Linked DNA regions of Homo sapiens: region 1 is linked to region 2. The links are contacts of gene promoters, found by promoter capture Hi-C in human tissues and cell types (Jung and others, 2019). All regions are on one chromosome and are shown on one strand. Each heading gives the region's core, a stretch centred on a gene start or on the middle of the fragment in contact. The rest is flanking DNA. Distances are from core to core; before and after follow the strand shown. Region 1 has its middle 17 kb from the start of MIR4520-1. Region 2 holds the start of SLC13A5 (solute carrier family 13 member 5).

What was found. The method cuts DNA at HindIII sites, captures the fragments that hold promoters and counts their contacts. A contact is called where the count stands out against the background at its distance.
Region 1: a contact is called between a fragment that was not itself captured here and the fragment with the promoter of SLC13A5 in region 2, in 1 of the 25 tissues and cell types used here (ovary).

What each region holds. Positions count from the first base shown.
Region 1 is chr17:6,669,811-6,675,490 of GRCh38, reverse strand. No RefSeq gene overlaps it. Among named protein-coding and RNA genes, the nearest start is that of MIR4520-1, 17 kb to the right of the region's middle. RefSeq lists a silencer at 5,146-5,300. The HindIII fragment of the contact is 4,115 bases long and covers 1,728-5,680 here.
Region 2 is chr17:6,711,781-6,718,166 of GRCh38, reverse strand. SLC13A5 (solute carrier family 13 member 5) reads left to right here and starts at 4,798. Exons shown (of 12, transcript NM_177550.5): 1 at 4,798-4,935. The coding sequence starts at 4,834. The HindIII fragment of the contact is 16,548 bases long and covers 1-6,386 here.

The sequences.
Region 1 (5,680 bases), core at 2,536-5,035, 42 kb after region 2:
CCTCCTCACTTATGACCTGAGTGGCCTCGGTCATGCCACCTCTCTGAGCTCCATCTGTTCATGTCTCAACTGGAAATTGTGATAACACTAACCACACCCCCTTGGCAGAGTGACGGGAGGAGTAAATGAGATGGTGCATGAAGGGCCTGGATAGAGCAGGTCCTGAAGCGCCTGGATGAAAGGATGCTGTTCTGCCTCCCCCGCAAGGCTATGGGGAGGTGGGACTGGGCCTGGGAGGGCCGTGTGGAGAAAGGGCAGTTGGCCCTCCTGACTCCTGCTGGTAACCCAGGTCCACGAGCAGGGAGCCAGTCCCACTCTGGCTCTGTCTAGGGTGCCATTGTGGGGCTGAGGGGTGGTGCTCACACTGGAAGAAAAGCTTAGTTGGCCTAGGCCTGGTTAGCCAGGCTGTCCATGGAAGCCTGGCCCCTTCACACTCCTTGGATGTTTTTCTTCTTCTTCTTCTTCTCTGAATTTAGGCCCCTTTGGGCAATAGCAGCCTGTCTGTGACAAGTGTGCCGGACAACCAGGGCTTGGCCCATCTGACCCTGGGACCCTGGTCAGGTCCAGGGTAGAGCAGCATTTGGGAATCTTCGAGGGTGCAGATGCTCTGGGATAGACCTGCCCAAGGTCTGGTCCAAGGACGGTGCTCACCTCTGCTTCCAGGCCCCTGGCTCAGCCCCGAGGCCCAGGGCTCAGGTCGGGCAAAGCGGTAGCATCTCAACTGCTCCCACACCATCCGTGGTCTTCCCGAAACCCTGGTGCTGACTTGGCCTTCGTGGAGGCTGCCCCGGGAGGGGCTCCAACAAGACGGGCCTTGAGAAAGGCCCGTTACCTGCCAGTGCTCGGCCTCCAAAATAGAATTTGAAGGGAGCAAAGCCTTTAATTCCATGTGTCCCAACAGCAGGTCGGTGTGGGGATAACTATGATCTGACTGGTCTTGAGTTATAATTACGGAGTCAGAATGAAAAATTACAGGCATTGTGTGGGCTTGTTTTAAATATAACGTAATCCATACCGTCCTCTCTCTTATTTGCTAGATTTGAGGTGGAGGCTTTGGCAGTTGGCGCAGGTTTTGCCTGACGTGTAGCAGATAAAAATGGCCTTTGCTCAGTGAAGAGGGCATGGTGGGAGGCCTCTGAGACCCTCAGCATTCCCAACTGCCCACTTCCCACAACCATAGGCACGTGTGCTTCCGTGCGAGCCCTGTTTGTCAATCGCATTATCTGTATGTTGCGTTTCCCAGCTGACCTCCCTATTTCCTGTCTCCCTCAAGCCAGTCCACCAGAAACATCTCTGTAAAACCCAGCTTTGATGCTTAAGGACCCATCAAGGGCCTCTCTCTGTCTATAGGGTAAATCCAAACTCCAAGTTTCTTTATGACTTGGTTCCAATCCACATTCCAGCATCACAGCTGGGAACAGGAGCTGTGGCATGGAGGTGACATGAAGTACAAGGGCCCTGGGGCCCAACGGCACAGGCTCCAACTCGGGCTCCAACTCTTAGTAACCGAATGTGAGTCCAGGCAGGTTCCTTTTTCTTTTTCTTTTTGAGACAGAGTTTCGCTCTTCTTGCCCAGGCTGGAGTGCAATGGCGCGATCTCAGCTCACTGCAACCTCCACCTCCTGGGTTCAAGCAATTCTCCTGCAATTCTCCTGCCTCAGCCTCCTGAGTAGCTAGAATTACAGGTGCACACCACCATGCCTGGCTAATTTTTCTATTTTTAGTACAGACGGGGTTTCACCATGTTGGCCAGGCTGGTCTCGAACTCCTGACCTCAGGTGATCCACCTGCCTCGGCCTCCCAAAGTGCTGGGATTACAGGCGTGAGCCACTGTGCCCGGCCAGGCAAGTTCCTTAACCTTAATCTGCGTGCTTTAGCTCCTCCACTTCTTGCTATTTATATGGGGTTGCTGTGAAGACAGAATGAAATAACACACTCCTAGAACCACCCTCGTCATGTCCCTTTTCCTCTCCAAGACTTAGCTGACCGATCACTGAAAGGAGGCAACAGAAATACTGTCTTTCGAGTTAGTCGATGTTTCTTTGAATGATATTTCTTGGTGTAGTTGATGGTGTGTGGCGAGATGGGCATGTGTTAGTTCAACCTTTCTCAAAAGTAAAATAAAAATACACATGCGAAATCTTAAAACATGCCTATACCCTATGAGTAGGAATCTAAGCTAAGGGAAAAATGAAATTGTGGACAAAAATTTATGCATAAAGATGCTTACTTTAGTATTTTTTGTTTTGTTTTTGAGACGGAGTCTCACTCTGTCTCCCAAGCTGGAGTGCAGTGGGGCGATCTTGGCTCACTGCAACCTCTGCCTCCTGGGCTCAAGTGATCCTCCCACCTCAGCCTCCCCCACTCCAGTCCCCAGGTAGCTGGGACTACAGGCGTCAGCCACCACACCCAGTATTTTTTTTTTTTGAGATGGAGTCTCACTCTGTCCCCCAGGCTGTGGTGTGCAGTGGCGTGATCTCAGCCCACTGCAACCCCTCCACCCCTCCCAGTTCAAGCAATTCTCCTGCCTCAGCCTCCTGAGTTGCTGGGATTACAGGCACCTGCCACCATGCCCAGCTAATTTTTGTATTTTCAGTAGAGACGGGGTTTCACCGTGTTGGCCAGGCTGATCTGAAACTCCTGACCTCAAGTGATCTGCCCACCTTGGCCTCCCAAAATGCTGGGATTACAGGTGTAAGCCATGACGCCTGTCCCAAGATGTTTACTTTGGTATATTTTTATATCCTTGAAAAACTGAAAACATACATGCCTGACATTTAGGTAATATTAGTTAAGGTGTGTCAGCTCAAAAGACTATTATGCAGTCATTAACAGTGTTTTTAAAGAATATTTCGTTATATTGAAAATGCATATAATCGGAGGTAAATAAATCACGTATAATGTATGGTCGTAGTGATAATAAAAATATGCGAGCACAGAAAAGGTTGATATTGAAATAGAATAGCAGTTATCTTTGATGAACGGATAGAAGGATTAATATTTTCTCCTTTATAGTTTTCTGTATTTTCCAAATATCCTAGAAACAGGCATGCATTATTTGTATAATTTTTTAAAAGCTTAACGTTAAAATGTTAAATAAAATGAGAGGGTAGGGCCGGGCGTGGTGGCTCATGCCTGTAATCCCAGCACTTTAGGAGGCCGAGGCAGGTGGATCATGAGGTCAGGAGTTTGAGATCAGCCTGGCCAACATGGTGAAATCCCATCTCCACTAAAACATACAAAAATTAGCCGGGCATGGTGGTGCACGCCTGTAGTCCCAGCTACTCGGGCAGCTGAGGCAGAAGAATCGCTGGAACCCGGAAGGTGGAGGTTGCAGTGAGCCGAGATCACGCCACTGCACTCCAGCCTGGGCGACACAGAGAGACTCCGTCTCAAAAAAAAAAAAAAAAAAAAAAAAGAGAGAGAACTTGATGTCAGAGTTCCCTTCTGGCTGGTATCAATCTACGATTCTAATAGGCTGGGACCACCCACAGGGCCTGAGAGGTGACTGCAGAGAGCCCTCAAGACCTGCCTCAAAGACAAGCAGCCACAGGGCAGGTCCAGAGCCCGGAGTCAGCAACTCACTGATCATGAGGATTCGCCAAGTACATCCACACAGCCTTCCCTTGAAGCCAGCTGCCTCTCTAGAGTCTTTCTGAAACTTTCCCAAGTGTTGAAGACTCTTCCACGCCATTGAAAGTGGGCAGGGTGACAGCCCCACTCTGACCCTGCTAAACCATGGGGCCTCGGTGGCCCCCCGTCCACCTGGTGCCAAGTGGGGTTTGGCCTGAGAGGTGAGCTCTTTCTGCCACTTCAGGTAAGGGGCTCGTTGGAGAAGGTAGGCAGGCGGCGCCATTGTCACCTCTGTGGACCTGTCTACTGTCCACACATCTGGACTTTGGGGACACCACTTTCTGGCTCTTTCAGACCACACACCCCCAACGGCCAGGACACACAACACTGTCTGGTGAGTTGTCCTGAGGGTGGGGCTTCTGGAACACTTCCTAAGAGGGAGTCACTGAGGGACAGCCTGCTCACTCCCAGCTACTTCTGGGATCTCAGAATCACTGGATCCAATCGAGCAGGTCAGCCCAGCTGAGGCTACCTGGAGAAATGAAAGGGGCCTTTGGTGAGGCCCTGGTGGAAGGAAGGGCAGGGCACCATGTGAGTTCACAAAGGGAGCTCCCCGGGGAGGGAGCCCTTGGAGGCAGGAGCCTGGAGCCCTGTGCCCAGAACCCTGCGCCCCGCCTCTAGACTGCAGCTTGTCAGGGCTTGGCTAGGACCTCCATGAACCAGCTCCACACCTGGCCAGTTAGGAACCAGAGAAACTCAGAGGAATCAGAGGCTAAGACACTGAGACAGACAGGCTTAGAGGGACAGTAAGAACAGCAGTCGGCGGGAGGCAGGCAGAGGTGTGGGGAGACACAGGCTGAGAAACAGACAGTGCCTGAGACAGGGCGGAGAGGCCCCCACTAGGCAGACTGTGCACATCAGCACCTCCAAACAGGCTCACCCTCACGATCACCAGGGAACGCAAATTAAAGTCCCCCTGATGTGCCATTCATTTCACACCTATGAAATTAGCAAACATTAACAAAATTATAATGTCTCATGCTGTTGAAGCTGTGCTGAAACCAGCTTACACACACTGCCAGTGGCAGTGTAAATTAACACCACCTTTTTAGGGGAGAAATTGGGCAATACGCTTCCAGAGCTATAAAAATGTTCATACCTTTTAATGTGGTAATTCTGCTCCTGGGAATGTGTTGTAAGGAAGTCATTCAACAGAACCATGAAAGACGTGTATCTAAAGACCATGAGGGCAGTGCTCTCCGCTATATCCCGGGGGCTCTAGTATGGCCGCCATGAATATTTTTTAAAATAGGGAATATTAAGACTATAGGCTGGGCGCGGTGGCTTGAGCCTGTAATCCTGGCACTTTGGGAGGCCGAGGTGGGTGGATCACCTGAAGTCAAGGGTTCGAGACCAACCTGGCCAACATGGCAAAACCCCGTCTCTACTAAAAATACAAAAATTAGCCAGATGTGGTGGCAGGCACCTGTAATCCCAGCTACTCAGGAGGCTGAGGCAGGAGAATTGCTTGAACCCGGGAGGTGGAGGTTGCAGTGAGCTGAGATTGCGTCACTGCACTCCAGCCTGGGTGACAAAGACTCTGTCTCAAAAAAAAAAAAAAAAAAAAAGACTATATAGTATAACATTTAAGGGTTCTTAGAATATGTGAAAATGAGCAGAAAATAAAACCATCTGTACATTAAAATTAATAATTCCATAAAACAGCTGCCTGAAAGCTCAGGGCAGCCCCACCCTTGCTGGTGGAGGGTGAATGGTTCTTGATTCCCGGCTGGCCATACAGACACTCCTGTCTTCCCACTGAGGGGCCTGCCCTGCCGCTCCCTGTCTGGAAGCCTAATCTGCAGACCTCAGACCGGTGGGGAGACAGGCTCAGCAAAGCCTGCCCACCTGGCCAGCTCATGGGAGTGGCCCTGGGGAGTCTGAATGGTGCTCACTGAGTCACATCCGCTGAGGTGTGTCTCTGATGTCACACCTACAGAGGCCAAACCAGAAAGGAAAAGAAAGAGATGGTGGGGTTGGGTCTTGGTTTAAGAAAGGGATGCAGTGATTCTGCAAGTTCTGAAGTGTCTTGCTTGTTGCAAGCACA
Region 2 (6,386 bases), core at 3,549-6,048:
GCAGACAAAACACCTCAGACACCGAGTTAAAGAAGGAAGGGGTTTATTCGGCCAGGAGCATTGGCAAGACTCCTGTCTCAAGAGCCGAGCTCCCCGAGTGAGCAATTCCTGTCCCTCTTAAGGGCTCACAGCTCTAAGGGGGTGCGCGTGAGAGGGTCGTGATCGATTGAGCAAGCAGGGGGTATGTGACTGGGGGCTGCATGCACCGGTAATCAGAACAAAACAGAACAGGACAGGGATTTTTACAATCCCTGGAATCTATAGACAACATAACCGGTTAGGTCAGGGGTGGATCTTTAACTACCAGGCCCAGGGCATGGCGCTGGTATGTCTGCCTGTGGATTTCATTTCTGCCTTTTAGTTTTTACTTCTTTCTTTGGAGGCAGAAATTGGGCATAAGACAATATGAGGGGTGGTCTCCTCCCTTAATAGGTTACTAAAAGTAGCCACATCAAGACAAAATTATCGTGATCTAATATACTTTATGCATTTTATGGTAAGTTACCAATACAAGATCTAAATTCGGATGCACTTTCTTTTTCATTACTTCATTTTTTATAGTGCAATGAAATATGTGGCTAAAATTTTAAGTTATCTGTGAAGTAGAAGTATGACAACAGGCAGGGCTTTTCTTTCGTAAAAAAATCTGTGTGCATAAATTGAACTCATGTTCAGCTCTTGGGAATAATTAAATAAGACTCATAAATTAAAAAATCGGAAATAGGTTGGGCGCGGTGGCTCATGCCTGTAATCCCAGCACTTTGGGAGGCCGAGGTGGGCAGATCATGAGGTCAGGAATTCGAGATTAGCCTGGCCAATATGGTGAAACACCATCTCTACTAAAAATACAAAAAAAAAAAAAAAAAAAATTAGCCAGGCGTGGTGGCACGCACCTGTAGTCCCAGCTACTCGGGAGGCTGAGGCAGAAGAATTGCTTGAATCCGGGAGGCGGAGGTTGCAGTGAGCCGAGATTGTGCCACTGCACTCCAGCCTGGGTGACAGAGTGAGACTCCATCTCAAAAAAAAAAAAAAAAATCAGAAATAACCTTATTATTAGAAATTATGCTCAAACTTCTCCTACATGTATTTAGCATACTTAGTGAAAGAAAAATGTCTATATTGCTAAAAACTAATTGATCCAGCAACTGAGAGTACACTTTGGATAGATCACTCAATCTCTGTTGTAAATAAAGTTTCCATGCAACCATGGGTCTATTTCTAGGCTCTATTCTACTCTTTTTCTAACCTCATGTCAATAGTTAATGATTACATCAACTATTACAAGTTAGTCATTCTTGAAGTCTAAATGGCAATTTCCCCCGTGTTTTTCCAGAAGTGTCGTAATTATTCTTGGCTTACCTGCTATTCTACCTGAATTTTAGGCTTGTTAACTAAAAATCCTGTTGGGATTTTAATTGGAATTGAATTGAATTTATAGGTTAATTTGAGAGAAATGGATAGTCCTACAATGTGTGGTCTCCCTATCCGTGAACTTGGTATAATCTCTCCATTTATTTAGCTTGTTGTTGTTGTAGCACTTTGGCCTTGGAATTTTTCTTAACAATCTTAATATTCTTTTTCATTTGGTGCTAACTTTGACTATCCTCCACTGCTGCCTGGCAAATTATTACTTAGCCATTAAGTTTTTTTTTTTTTTTTTTTTTTTGCAGGGGGACGGAGTCTGGCTCTGTCACCCAGGCTGGAGTGCAGTGGTGCGATCATGGCTCACTGCAAGCTCTGCCACCTCCTCTGTGAAACCTTCCTTCATTACTTAGGCAGAGTTGGTGGATCCTTCTCTTAAGGCCTCACCAACCAGGGTATTTTGCATACAATTGCAAGAATGGATATTTACTAACAGCTGACTATATGCCAACGCACTGAGTTAAGCTCTGACCATGAACTCATATAATCTCCAAAACAGCCATTTAAAATCAAAGTTGGTGCTATTATCTCCATTTATGACAGGATAAGCTCATAGAGAGCAACTTGTCTGAGGCACACAGCCAGGATGAGCTAGGGCAAGATATAAGCCCAGGAACTCTAGCCTCAGAGTCCATGCTCTGGTGAATCCCTTTGGAAGCAGTTGTATTAAGAACAGAAGTTGTACTTTTACATTGTTGGTGGGAGTGTAAATTAGTTCAACCATTGTGGAAGACACTGTGGCGATTCCTCAAGGATCTAGAACCAGAAATATCATTTGACCCAGCAATTTTATTACTGGGTATATACCCAAAGGATTATAAATCATGCTGCTATAAAGACACATGCACACTATTTACAATAGCAAAGACTTAAAACCAACCCAAATGTCCATCAATGATAGACTGGATAAAGAAAATGTGGCACATACATACCATGGAATACTATGCAGCCATTAAAAATAATGAGGTCATGTCCTTTGCAGGGACATGGATGAAGCTGGAAGCCATCATTCTCAGCAAACTAACACAGGAACAGAAAACCAAACACCACATGTTCTCAGTCATAAGTGGGAGTTGAACAGTGAGAACGCATTGACACAGGGAGGGGAACATCACACACGGGGGCCTGTCAGGGGGTTGGAGGGCAAGGGGAGGGAGAGCATTAGGACAAATACCTAATGCATGTGGGTCTTAAAACCTAAATGTCCGGTTGATAGCTGCAGCAAACCACCATGGCACATGTATACCTATGTAACAAACCTGCACATTCTGCACATGTATCCCAGAACTTAAAGTAAAATTAAAAAAAAAGAAAAGAAAAAAGAACTGAAGTTGTTTACTTGCTCTCATTCATGCATCCCGGAGAAAAAGGTTTGAGTGCACATCCTGGATTAGGCACTGAGAAAGGCACTAGCTGGACAGGTGGTGATGAATAAAACAGACAGTAAATAGAAATTACATCATAATAATGTGTCATATATTTTAAAATAGCTACAAGATATTTTAAATGTTCTCACCACAAAGAAATGACAAATATTTGGGCCAGACGCGGTGGCTCACGCCTGTAATCCCAGCACTTTGGGAGACCGAGGTGGGCGGATCACCTGAGGTCAGGAGTTCGAGACCAGCCTGGCTAACATGGTGAAACCCCATTTCTACTAAAAATGCAAAAAATTAGCCGGGCGTGGTGGTGCACACCTGTAATCCCAGCTACTTGGGAGGCTGAAGCAGGAGATTTGCTTGAACCTAGGTGGCAGAGGTTGCAGTGAGCCGAGATCGTGCCACTGCACTCCAGCCTGGGTGACAGGAGCACAACTCTGTCTCAAACAAACAAACAAAAAACAAAAACAAGAGAAATGATAAATATTCGAGTGATAAATATGCTCATTAGCCTGATTTGAACACACCACAATTATACACACATTGAAAAATCACATGGTACCCCGTAAATATAGACAATGATTTGTCAATTAAAAATGAAATAACACTTAAAAAATAAAAAAGTAAAAAGTAAAAATTACACCAATAAATATAAGAGGTACAAATTGTGCTAAGTGCCCTGGGGACACAGGAAAGGCGGGAAAACCCAGGGCTATATGCATGAGAGTTACAAAGGGAAAAGGACAGGAGGGAGGCAATTGCAGGAGGGGCTTGGGAGAATGCATGTCCTTGGGTGCAGGTCACAGGAAGGAACTCATGAGCTTGATTCAGGATGTGTTGAATTTTCGGGCCGAGACACGTCCAGTCTGCGGAAGGCTGGACATCTGGGACTCTGGCATCATGGCTGGGTTGAAGGCAGAGGATGGTAATCACTAAGGAGCCGGCTGTGGTTAGGCCACCAGCATGGATGAGACTCCCCAAAAGGAAGCTGCAGAATGAGAGGCAGGCAGAGGAGAGGAAAGAAGAAAATCACAGAGGTGGGGATGTCTTTGCATCCGTGTGTCTCCAGTGCCCAAAACAGGGCCTCGCGGAGAAGAGGTGCTCGGCACCTGTCTGTTGCCTGGCGGGCTGAATGAATACATGGGCGACTGTCTCAGTGTCGCCTTAGTTGTGTCCCTTCCTCTCTAGAGCTCCGTTTCCCTCTGACCTGGGTCGGGCGGGCAGCTGCGGCTGCTGAGGCTCGGTGGGGCCCCTCCAAGACGCGTGTCCGCATCTGCCCGCCGGGCGTCTGCGGGGTGCAGCGTCCACTGGAGCGCGACAGCCCCTGGGACAGAGGAGGACAGTGGCCTCGCTTCCCTGTGCGATCGCCCAGGAGCTCCGGGCCGGAGAGTGCGAGCGGGGAAAAGGGGTCCTGCACCTAGAGTGGGGCGGACGTGGCGAGGAAGCCAGGGGGGACCGGGAAGCGAGGCCCGCGGTGCGGAGGGCGCGGGGCGTGGGGGGACACCTCTCGGAGAGACACCGGAGGGGCGGAAGTAAGGAGATGGAAAGGAGAGGGAGATCGGGGAGATAGACCTGAGAGACCCAGAGGCCTGCAGAGAGTTTCATCCGGGACCCTTCAGAGCCCAGGAAAGAGCAGATGCGGACGCGGGAGGGCGCCTTACGCCAAAGCGGGCAGCACCAGTGACCAAAACACGCCCCGCTTGGCAGCCCCGGGACGCACCTCTGCCTCGGCAGCGCAGGAGAGGCTTGGACAGCGCGAGATGCTAGGGCCCAGGCTGCCCCTAGAGGGCTGGCCCGAAGCGTTGGAGTCCAAAGACGCCTCCCACCGCCGCCGGGTGGCAGAATTGGGGGCAGGCGCGTCCCACAGACCCCGAGGGGTGGCCCCGCCCCAGGGCCGCGGGGAGGCGCCCCCGTGCGGGGCGGAGTTGTCACCGCCCCCTCCCCAATCCCCGGGGACTGTGGCCCCTTCTTAAGCCCGCGGCGCCTCTAGCTGCCCCTCACTCGTCTCGCCCGCCAGTCTCCCTCCCGCGCGATGGCCTCGGCGCTGAGCTATGTCTCCAAGTTCAAGTCCTTCGTGATCTTGTTCGTCACCCCGCTCCTGCTGCTGCCACTCGTCATTCTGATGCCCGCCAAGGTCAGTTGCATCTCCAGGCAGCCCTTCGGACACCCGGCGTCCTGTGCCCACTAACGGGCACCGATCCCGGGAGCCCTGAGCTGGAGCGCACGGATTTCGCGGGGAGCACAGCTCTCCCGGGGCGCGCGCACTCAGGAGCTCCAGGTGCCGGATGGGAGGTGCCCTGTAAAGAATCTGAGGGGCATGGCGACCCCAGGGCGCACCACCCTTGGGGTTTACAGATCCCAGGGCGCAAGAGCCGTCCAGGCAAGCACGGAAACCTCGAAGTGAGCACAGATCTCAGCCACACAGATCCCAGCCTTAGGCTCAGCCCCTGGCTCCGAATCGAATCTCCCACAGTGCATAACCCTGTTTCCCCCCAAAATGCCACCTGCGCCAACAGGGAACCTGGGAGCTTGCCTTTCCCTCTCTCTCTCCTGTCTTTTCCCTTCGCCAAAGAAGACTTCAAGCTGTAGGTGGCTTCTGCCGTCAGGAGGGACCTACAGGAAAAAAATCATCACCCACGTGGATCCTGCGCTGTCTTTGCCACTCTCTGGCCCTTCCTTGGGCCTTAGTGTCTCTATCTATGATCCACATTCCTTCCAACCTGGAGAGCCACATCTGATTCATAATCCTGCTCCAGGCTGCAGGCAGGTTGGGGTTGGCCTGCTTTGCCTCCTGCCTGCTGGGGCTGTAGCAGGAGGCGGGACACATTCCCAGAGCTCGCGCCTTGGGTGGCAGGACCTGGAGTTGCAGGGAAGCTTCCTCCCAGGCCCTAGTCTCCTAATGCTTCTGTGAGGGAGAGAGAGAATGAATGGCCTTGGCCGCAGGGTGGGCGCAGGCTCCACTGGGCTGTGCACAGCCAGTTTGGCGGAGGCCCAAGCCCTTTGAAGCCTTTTGTGGCTGCTGGCTGCTCCTTCCTCGTTCCTTCTTTCAGCCCTTTCACTCTCAGCCCAGACAGGAAACCTCCAGCTCCCCACCTCCCCTCCCCAGGCAGGTTTGGGAAACAGAGGAGCTCTTCAGGGGATGCTCTGGGGGGGAGCTCTAGAGGAAGGGAGTGCACTGGGGTGTCAGGAAGCCAACCTGCAAGAGAACTGGACTTCCACCATTCTGTCATCTGTGTGACTTTAGCCAAGTGCCTGTGCTCTCTGGGCCTTGGTGTTCTCATCTGTACAATGGGGCTAGGTGGTTTGGTTCTGACACTTTAAGGCTTTGGGAATCAAAAGGGATTAACGTTAGTTCCTAGGATGGGGGAGGGGGAGACTGGGAGGAGCCCTTGGGTGGGCCTAGCACAGGCCCTGGATGGGTCAAGGACAGCAGATCCAACTGTGGAGGCTGTGCAGTTGCCACACCAACTGTGGGCAGCCACACTTCCTCTGTAGCAAGAAGTCTGGGGTTGTTATTGTCCAGGGGAAGTAGCCAGGCAGGAGAGCTGCGATTTCAGCTCTGCTGGTAGGGAGTGATGTTCCCTG